2 separate regions of the Homo sapiens genome follow, and region 1 is linked to region 2. Evidence: promoter capture Hi-C in 16 types of primary human blood cells and fetal thymus (Javierre and others, 2016). All regions are on one chromosome and are shown on one strand. Each heading gives the region's core, a stretch centred on a gene start or on the middle of the fragment in contact. The rest is flanking DNA. Distances are from core to core; before and after follow the strand shown. Region 1 overlaps DIAPH1 (diaphanous related formin 1). Region 2 holds the start of PCDHGA12 (protocadherin gamma subfamily A, 12).

Region 1 (3,960 bases), core at 715-3,214, 100 kb before region 2:
CGTGTTCAAACACCCCATTCCTCTGCTCAGAGGCAGCTAGCTTTGTCAGCTTCTCGACTCTCCTTTCGGGGATATTCCCATATGACTTTCTGAAAATTTGATACCAAGTTACACTATAGTACAAAGTATTTTACAATTATATCTGTCCAGAATAGTTACTTGGTTTTTTCCTATGTATTGCTCAACCCTCCTTGGATAGCCAGCATCAACCATTTTTTAGAGAATGTTACTATCATGAGAGCCATTAAGGGAGTGATACAATGAAATACTGTTTTGCCCATGCCCTTGAAGTTCAAAATCTAGGTGGGATGAGAAATATCCACACTTATTAAATAACAGAGGCTTTAAAAAGATCAAGATAATACGTATGCAATGTCACAAAACATTGAATAATTAATTGTTGGATGAGATATAGATAACAAATACCATGAAAATAAGTTTATCAAAGCAGAGAGTGAGTATCATTTATCAGGGAACGTTTCATGAGAAGGGAAGAATATGATGGCTTTGGATAGTCTGAAAAGAATGCAGAAGGCAGAAGTATATTTTACCTCAATCATAGGCAGTTGAGAAAACAAAATTTTTTTAGAGAAAGTCATGTTCAAGATGGAGCTTAAGGTAGGGCAACAGTGGCTCATGCCTGTACTCCTAGCAGTTTGGGAGGCTGAGGCAGGCAGATTGCTTGATCCCAGGAGTTTGAGGCCAGCCTGGGCAATATGGTGAAACCTCATCTCCACAAAAAATAAAAAAATTAGCCGGGCGTGGTGGCCTGCACCTGTAGTCCCAGCTCCTTGGGACCCTGAAGTGGGAGAATTATCTGAGCCCAAGAGGTCAAGGCTGCAAGTGAGCCATGATTGCGCCACTGCAGTCCAACCTGGGTGACACAGTGAGATGCTGTCTCAAAAAACAAACAAAAAAGATGGAGCTTGAAAGATAAGTTGGATTTTTAAATAGGCACAAAAGGAAGGATAACATGGTGGAAGGGGACTGCTGAACTACTACTAACCAACTGTTCTTGTGAATCAAGTTTTAATGGAACACAACCATGCCCATTCATTTATGTATTGTCTGTGCCTGCTTTCATGCTACAGTGGCAGAGTTGAATAATTGAGACCATATGGCCTGCAAAGCCTAAAATAGTTACTATCTGGTCCTTTACAGGCAGCTTGCTGATCCCTGCAAGTAGATAGGATGTAGGTAGGAAAGCATTACTGATAAATATTGAAGAAATGAAAATGAGATATTTATTAGAGTTGGGGGAGGTTCAGTAATAAAAGGGTGGTTGGTTGAAGAGGAGGTTAGTTTTGAAGGAATACAATAGACCATTATAATAGAGAGGAAGTGAGGGGCCATTTCACGCTGGACAGTAGTTGCTTGGTAAAGCACAGAGGTGGCTTACTTTTAATCATGCTTTTCTAATCTTTTCCCTGCTAGCCAAGAAGGATCAAGAAGGTGGAGAAGAAAAGAAATCTGTGCAAAAGAAAAAAGTAAAAGAGTTAAAGGTGTTGGATTCAAAGACAGCCCAGAATCTCTGTGAGTATCTCTTGGTCCCAACTATTCAAAATGTGAAGGAATTCTTTTAAGAATTTTTAATTCTCTTGAATCTATGGTCCCTTGATATGGAACTTTAATTGTTCAATTCCTGCTATATACCAACCATTGCACAGTGAATTTTCAGTATCATGTTTAATTTCTTCAATAGCACTGCAAGATTTTTAAGTATCCAGTTTTATGTCAAGGAAACAAGCTAAGACTTTTAGGAATTTGCTTAGACATAAAGCTAGTAAGAAGGAGGTCTGGGATTTGAGCCTTTTTTTTTTTTTTTTTTTTTTTTGAGACACAGTCTCACCACTCTGTTGCCCATGCTGGGGTGTAATAATGCGATCACAGCTCACTGCCACCTCAGCTTCCTGGGCTCAGTTGATTCTTCCACCCCAGCCTCCCAAGTAGCTGAGACTACAGGTGTGCACCACCATGCTCAGCTAATTTTTTGTAGAGATGGGGTTTTGCCATGTTGCTCAGGCTGGTCTCAAACTCCTGGGCTCAGGTGATCTGCCCAGCTGTGTCTCTGACTTTCTTATTTAAAAGTTCTTACTATGTCCATTGCGTTCACAGAAAGTCTACCACAGATGGTCTAGCCACTGGACATTTCCTTGCTCCCACTTTTGCTTTTTTATTAAATAAATAGAGAAGGGGTCTCGCTATGTTGCCCAGGCTGGTCTTAAGCTCCTGGCCTCAAGTGATCTGCCCACCTCAGCCTCACAATATGTTGGGATTACAGATGTAAGCTACCATGCCCAGCTTTCACTTTCTGATAAGTAAAGGTACTAGCTTGGCTTCAATTAAATTTAAAATTACTTTGTGATTTAAAATAACTAAGGTAAATTTTGTACTTCTCAGAGTAGGATCAGTAACTCCAGAGAAGGGTTCTGTTCTGAAGTTTCCACGTATACTCGTAACTCTTTGGTAGCAAAATTTCAAATGAGAAATTCCTCTGCAAAGTTGATATAGGTAGTACTTATTTGATGATCAGGACAAATGTTAAATTTTTGTTCTTTTTAATTACTCATCTACCTACTTCATACCAAGAAATATAGACTTAAATATTTATTTGACAAATATTTCAGGGTCTGCTATGTTATAGGCTCTATTAGGCATGTGTTCCAGAGATGAAAGGGTATTTTCCGTAAAACCCACTCATAGTCTTGTGATGCAGTTATTGTCCCTGTTTATCCAAATGAGAAAACCAAAGTTTAAATGATGCGAAGTGCCCAGATCACACAGCCAATAAGTACACATACCCATAAGTAAAGTCAGTGATACAATGAGACCAGTAAACTGTCACATTATTCTTGATTATATAATCTTAAATTATTGTCAATAACTATTACTACATAGTGTCTGTGGTGAAGTCTTATGGAGATTAAAGTATTGTGAGTCAGTTCCTCTTCCCAAGAGTATCTCTAGGAACATAAGACATGAGTAATTGGTTTAAAAAATGATACAAGAAAGACAATGGTGTAGTACATTATGATTTCTAGTGTTATGATATTGATATGGAAAACAGAATTTAAGAAAAGAAAATTGAGAGTAGTATAGGATAGGATGGTCTGGAAGATGGAATTTAGTGATTAAATGTCTCTCATGTGCTAATGATACAAAGCTGAATAAGACAATAGTCCCTGTCTGCATGAGCCACGTATTTGGTAAAGACAGAAAGGCAGATGATAACAGTGCAGATTAATAAATGCTATGATGGAGGTATGCTAGAATGTTTATGAGAGTACTAGGAAGGGAGGGATCTAAATCAAGTGGGGGCAGTGTTGGAGGGGCAAATCCCAGAAGATATTCTAAAGGAGGTACTACTTAAACTGAGTTGAAAGACCAATTAAGGAATTAAGGAGGCTGGGCATGGTGGCACATTCCTGTAATCCCAGCAGGAAGCTGAGGTGGGAAGATTGCTTGAGACCAAGAGTTCAAGACCAGCCTGGGAAACAAAGCAAGACCCCTGTCTCTACAAAACATAAAATACTAGCTGAGCACAGTGGCGTGTGCCAGTAGTCAACTACTCAGGAGGCTAAGGCAGAAGGATCACTTGAGCCCAGGAATTTGAGGTTGCAGTGAGCTGTGATTGCACCACTGCACTGCAGCCTGGGCAACAGAGTAAGACCCGTCTCAAAAAAAAAAACCAAAAAATTAAGTGAAGGCGGGAAGGTTGGCTTGTTTCAGGAGAGGGATCAGCATGTATGAGAGCATGAGATAACATTGTGCAGTTCAGGAACTGCAAGTAGTTGAGTACAACTGAGTAAAGTTTAAATCAGGAAAATGAGTGAGATTATCCTGTGTAATTTTTAGGAAGGCTGCTTTGGCAGTGATTTTGAGGCTGGATTGCTTTTTATCCTGTGTAATTTTTAGGAAGGCTGCTTTGGCAGTGATTTTGAGGCTGGATTGCTAAGGTAA
Region 2 (3,955 bases), core at 1,456-3,955:
AAAGAAAGAAGATTTGATATAAACTCACCTCAATTAACCCATGACTGTCTTTAGAAAATACCGAATCACCTGACAGCAAAAGGGGCTCGCTTTTTTCAAAGCTCTCCTGGCTGACGAGCATGTCTGCATAGTTGGGCTGGGGGAAGATCAGGTGACTCTTCCGCGAGTCCGTGGTGAGGGAAACCTCGTGGGAATAGGTCTGCAGGAAAGCCTGCACCCCGTCCACGCCCACAAAGTGCGACGCCGGCGCTCCTGTCAAGCCGCCTCCTGAAGCCTGCAGCAGGCGTGACTTGTGCCAGCGCCGCAGCCTGAGCGCCAGCAGCAAGATGACGAAGGCCAGGAAGACGCAGGAGACCGCGGCCACCGCTACCACCAGGTACAGAGTGAGGTCTGAGGTTTCAGAGTTAGCTGGAGACTCGAGGCTGCCGAGGTCCGCCAGGACTTGGGGGATGCTGTCGGCCACGGCCACGGTGAGCGTGACAGTGGCGGAGAGAGGGGGCTGGCCGTGGTCCTGGACGGCCACTACGAGGCTCTGCTTGAGCGCGTCTCTGTCCAGCAGGGCTCGCGCCGTGCGCACCTCGCCCGTGTGCAGACCCACCGAGAAGAGTCCCGGCTCGCTGGCCTTGAGCAGACGGTAGGACAGCCAGGCGTTCTGGCCGGAGTCTCTGTCCACCGCCACCACCTTGGTCACCAGGTAGCCGGGCTCTGCGGAGCGGGGAGCCAGCTCCACGCCAGTGGAACCGTCCGTGGGGAGGGCGGGGTACAGGATCTCGGGCGCATTGTCGTTCTGGTCCAGCACGAACAGGCTCAACGACACGTTGCTGCTGAGGGGCGGGTGCCCGTTGTCCCGCGCCATCACTTTCACTTGCAAGTCTCGGAACTGCTCGTAGTCGAAGGAGCTCAGCGCATACAGTACCCCAGTGTCGGAGTTGATGGACACGTAGGACGATAGGCTTGCCCCTTGGATGGTGTTCTCAGCCAGGGAATAAGTGATCTGGGCGTTCTCTTCACAGTCGGGGTCGTGGGCGGTCACAGAGACGAGGGAAACTCCTCTGGGATTGTTCTCTGGGATATAAGCGGAATAGGAGGCCTGAGGGAAGACCGGCGGGTTGTCGTTGGTGTCTGCCACGTTCAGCGAGATATGAGTTTCCGTGGATAGGGGCGGGGTTCCCCGGTCAGTGGCGGTCACTGTGATGTTGTAGCTAGGAACCTGTTCCCTATCCAAGACTATGTCTGTGACTAAACTATAGTAATTTCCGTAAGATTTTTCTAATTTAAAGGGCAGATTTCCTTGGATGAAACAGATCACCTGTCCGTTTTCCTCAGAATCTTGGTCATTTACATTTAAAAGGGCAATTAATGTCCCTCTGGGAGAGTTTTCGGGAACCGAGCTGGCGAGAGAGGTGAGGACCACTTCTGGGGCATTGTCGTTCACGTCCAGAACAGTGATCAGGACTTTGGCTCGCGCAGAATATCCTGCATTATCCATTGCTTGCACTTCCATCTGGTAGAATCCTGACTCCTCGTGGTCCAACTCCCCTATTGTTGATATTGTCCCTGAATTACAATCTAGTTTGAAAACTTGGGCCGCCTTGTCGTCCACATACCGGAAGGAATACCTCACTTCCGCATTGACTCCTTCGTCAGGGTCGGTAGCGTTGACTACAAGCAGCTGCGTGCCCAAGGCCAGATTCTCCGGAACGCTCGCGCGGTACTCGGGCTGAGCAAACGCTGGTGCGTTGTCGTTCGCATCCAGAACCATCACGCGGATGCGCGCGGTGCCTGTGCGCACCGGGTCGCCCCCGTCGGAGGCCGTAAGGACCAGGTGGTGAGCAGCCTTTTCTTCGCGGTCCAGGGCGCGTTTCAGCACCAATTCGGGGTACTTACTACCGTCGGCTCCATTTTGCACGATGAGGGAGAAGTGAGTGTTCGGGCTGAGCTCGTAGCTCTGCAGAGAGTTCTTCCCGATATCCGGATCCCAGGCGTGGGGTAGAGGGAACCGCATCTCAGTGGCTGCATTTTCACTAATTTTTATTTCTAATTCACTTTCACGAAAGTAAGGCGCATTGTCGTTAATGTCCCTTACTTCTACTTCTACTCCATATATTTTCACTTTATCCTCCATCAGAATGTCTAGATTTAATTGACACTTGATGGCCCCCATACAGAGCTCCTCCCGGTCTATCCTGCCCGCCGTGACCAAGCTGCCGCTGCGCGGATTCAGGGCGAAAAGCTGCGTCCTACCTCTGGGGATGATGCGGACTCCGCGCTCCGCGAGCTCCCGGGGCTCCAGCCCCAGGTCCCTGGAGATGTCGCCCACCCTAGAGCCTTTCTCCAGCTCTTCCGGAACTGAATAGCGTATCTGGGTGCATCCGGTCTCCCACAGAGTCCCCAGGAGGATTCCCAGCAGGACAAGCCCTTTGTAGTCCCGGTGCAGTCGCGCAGGAATCATTCTTATCTTCCTCCAGAATTATTTTCAATTCTGCCCTTAACCACTGAAGTCAGGAGCAGTTCCTTCGCCCATAGAATGGGACAGTTGGGAAGTCAGAGCTCCTCCGTTGTTTCCACATACTCCCAGGGATGGTTCATTCCTAGCTATCTGCTTTGTGCTTCAGGCGCGTGCAAGGCGAGCAGGATCTCCGCTTTTCTCTCCCCGATTGGTGAACAGCGGCGCTCAGAGTCCTAACCAATTACTGCACAATCTTGAACTCCCAGAAAGGATATTTCGTTTTTATATCTTAAATAGCTCCACCTACTGTTCTTCAAAAGGGGATGGAAATCTACCGTATTCGCTTTAATAGAAACTTTAGTGAGCTTTTTTTTTTTTTCCCAATGAGCTTTTTTTTCCCCAATGAGCTTTTAAATGAATTGGAAGTTTCTATAAACAATGATTTTAATCTTATAATGTTAGTGCATCTGCTTTGAGATTACTGTTCCCCCAACACACCTATTATGGAGATGTCTCCCTAGGAGTTTCTCTTTTTGACAAATCATATAATATAATAATTTAAACTTTCTGATTCAGCTATAATTTGGGGAAAATATTTTTAAATAGATTCCTTGAATGATCCTGAATGGAAGGATTACTTTACCAGGTTGTTGACATGTAACGCTTAAAAATCAAATTTTCATGATATTATGGAAACCTAAAAATGATATGTGATTGTATACATTATCAGAATCACACTTAACAAGAACCCAAGTGAAAAAGAAACATTAATATTTTTAGCATAAAGTAGAAGCATTCCAACTTGCATTGACTGGAAATAATGGAAGTACTCCAGAATTCTATTAATACATTATATTTCAAAAATATTTATTGTTCAGGAAACTTAGTAAAAGAAAATTGGTAGTCCAAAGAATGTTACAGACTTACCTTTTCCTGGGTAACTGACCTAATTGTAATTACTGAGAATTACTGGTAATACTTTTGGAAGCCCATCAAAATATAGGGAAAAAATTCTCCCTAAGAAATAACTGGCTACGTACTTTCATGAGCGTAAATATTTATACTGTAAAGATATTTGCTAGGCATAAAATAAAATAATATATTTTAAATTGGGAAGAAATATATAGGTAGCTGTGAGAAAATATCAGACATAAAATTGAGTTTACTTGAATTACAAGAATCAAAAGTAAATGTAACTGAATATTATCAAATCATTACCATGTTCTTATTTTTTTAAGCTTTTTTCTCTGCCAGGCACAGTTTCAGGCAACTGTAGTCTCAGCTACTCTGGAGATTGAGGTGGGAGGATTACTGTAGCCCAAGAGTTTGAGTCCAGCCTGGGCAACATAATGAGACCTTAATCTCAATTTTTTTTAAAAAAAAAACACATTTTCTCCATTTTCTCATGCATTTTCTTCAAAATTTATAGTTAATGGATTAAAGAAAAAGCCTTATATACTCAAATATTGATGTCCCAAGAAACATCACAGGAAAAAAATTTATTCC

The links. The method cuts DNA at HindIII sites, captures the fragments that hold promoters and counts their contacts. A CHiCAGO score of 5 or more calls a contact.
Region 1: a contact is called between a fragment that was not itself captured here and the fragment with the promoter of PCDHGA12 in region 2, in 1 of 17 cell types (M1 macrophages). The highest score is 5.1, in M1 macrophages.

Annotation. Positions count from the first base shown.
Region 1 is chr5:141,531,908-141,535,867 of GRCh38, reverse strand. DIAPH1 (diaphanous related formin 1) reads left to right here. Exons shown (of 28, transcript NM_005219.5): 19 at 1,435-1,533. Among named protein-coding and RNA genes, the nearest start is that of DIAPH1-AS1, 24 kb to the left of the region's middle. The HindIII fragment of the contact is 6,140 bases long and covers 1-3,960 here.
Region 2 is chr5:141,429,257-141,433,211 of GRCh38, reverse strand. PCDHGA12 (protocadherin gamma subfamily A, 12) reads right to left here and starts at 2,705. Exons shown (of 4, transcript NM_003735.3): 1 at 29-2,705. The coding sequence starts at 2,452. All of the region lies in intron 1 of PCDHGA1 (protocadherin gamma subfamily A, 1), which reads right to left. The region is part of intron 1 of PCDHGA2 (protocadherin gamma subfamily A, 2); the gene reads right to left. The region is part of intron 1 of PCDHGA3 (protocadherin gamma subfamily A, 3); the gene reads right to left. It also overlaps PCDHGB1, PCDHGA4, PCDHGB2, PCDHGA5, PCDHGB3 and PCDHGA6, and 10 more genes. RefSeq lists an enhancer at 2,670-2,809. The HindIII fragment of the contact is 4,636 bases long and covers 1-3,689 here.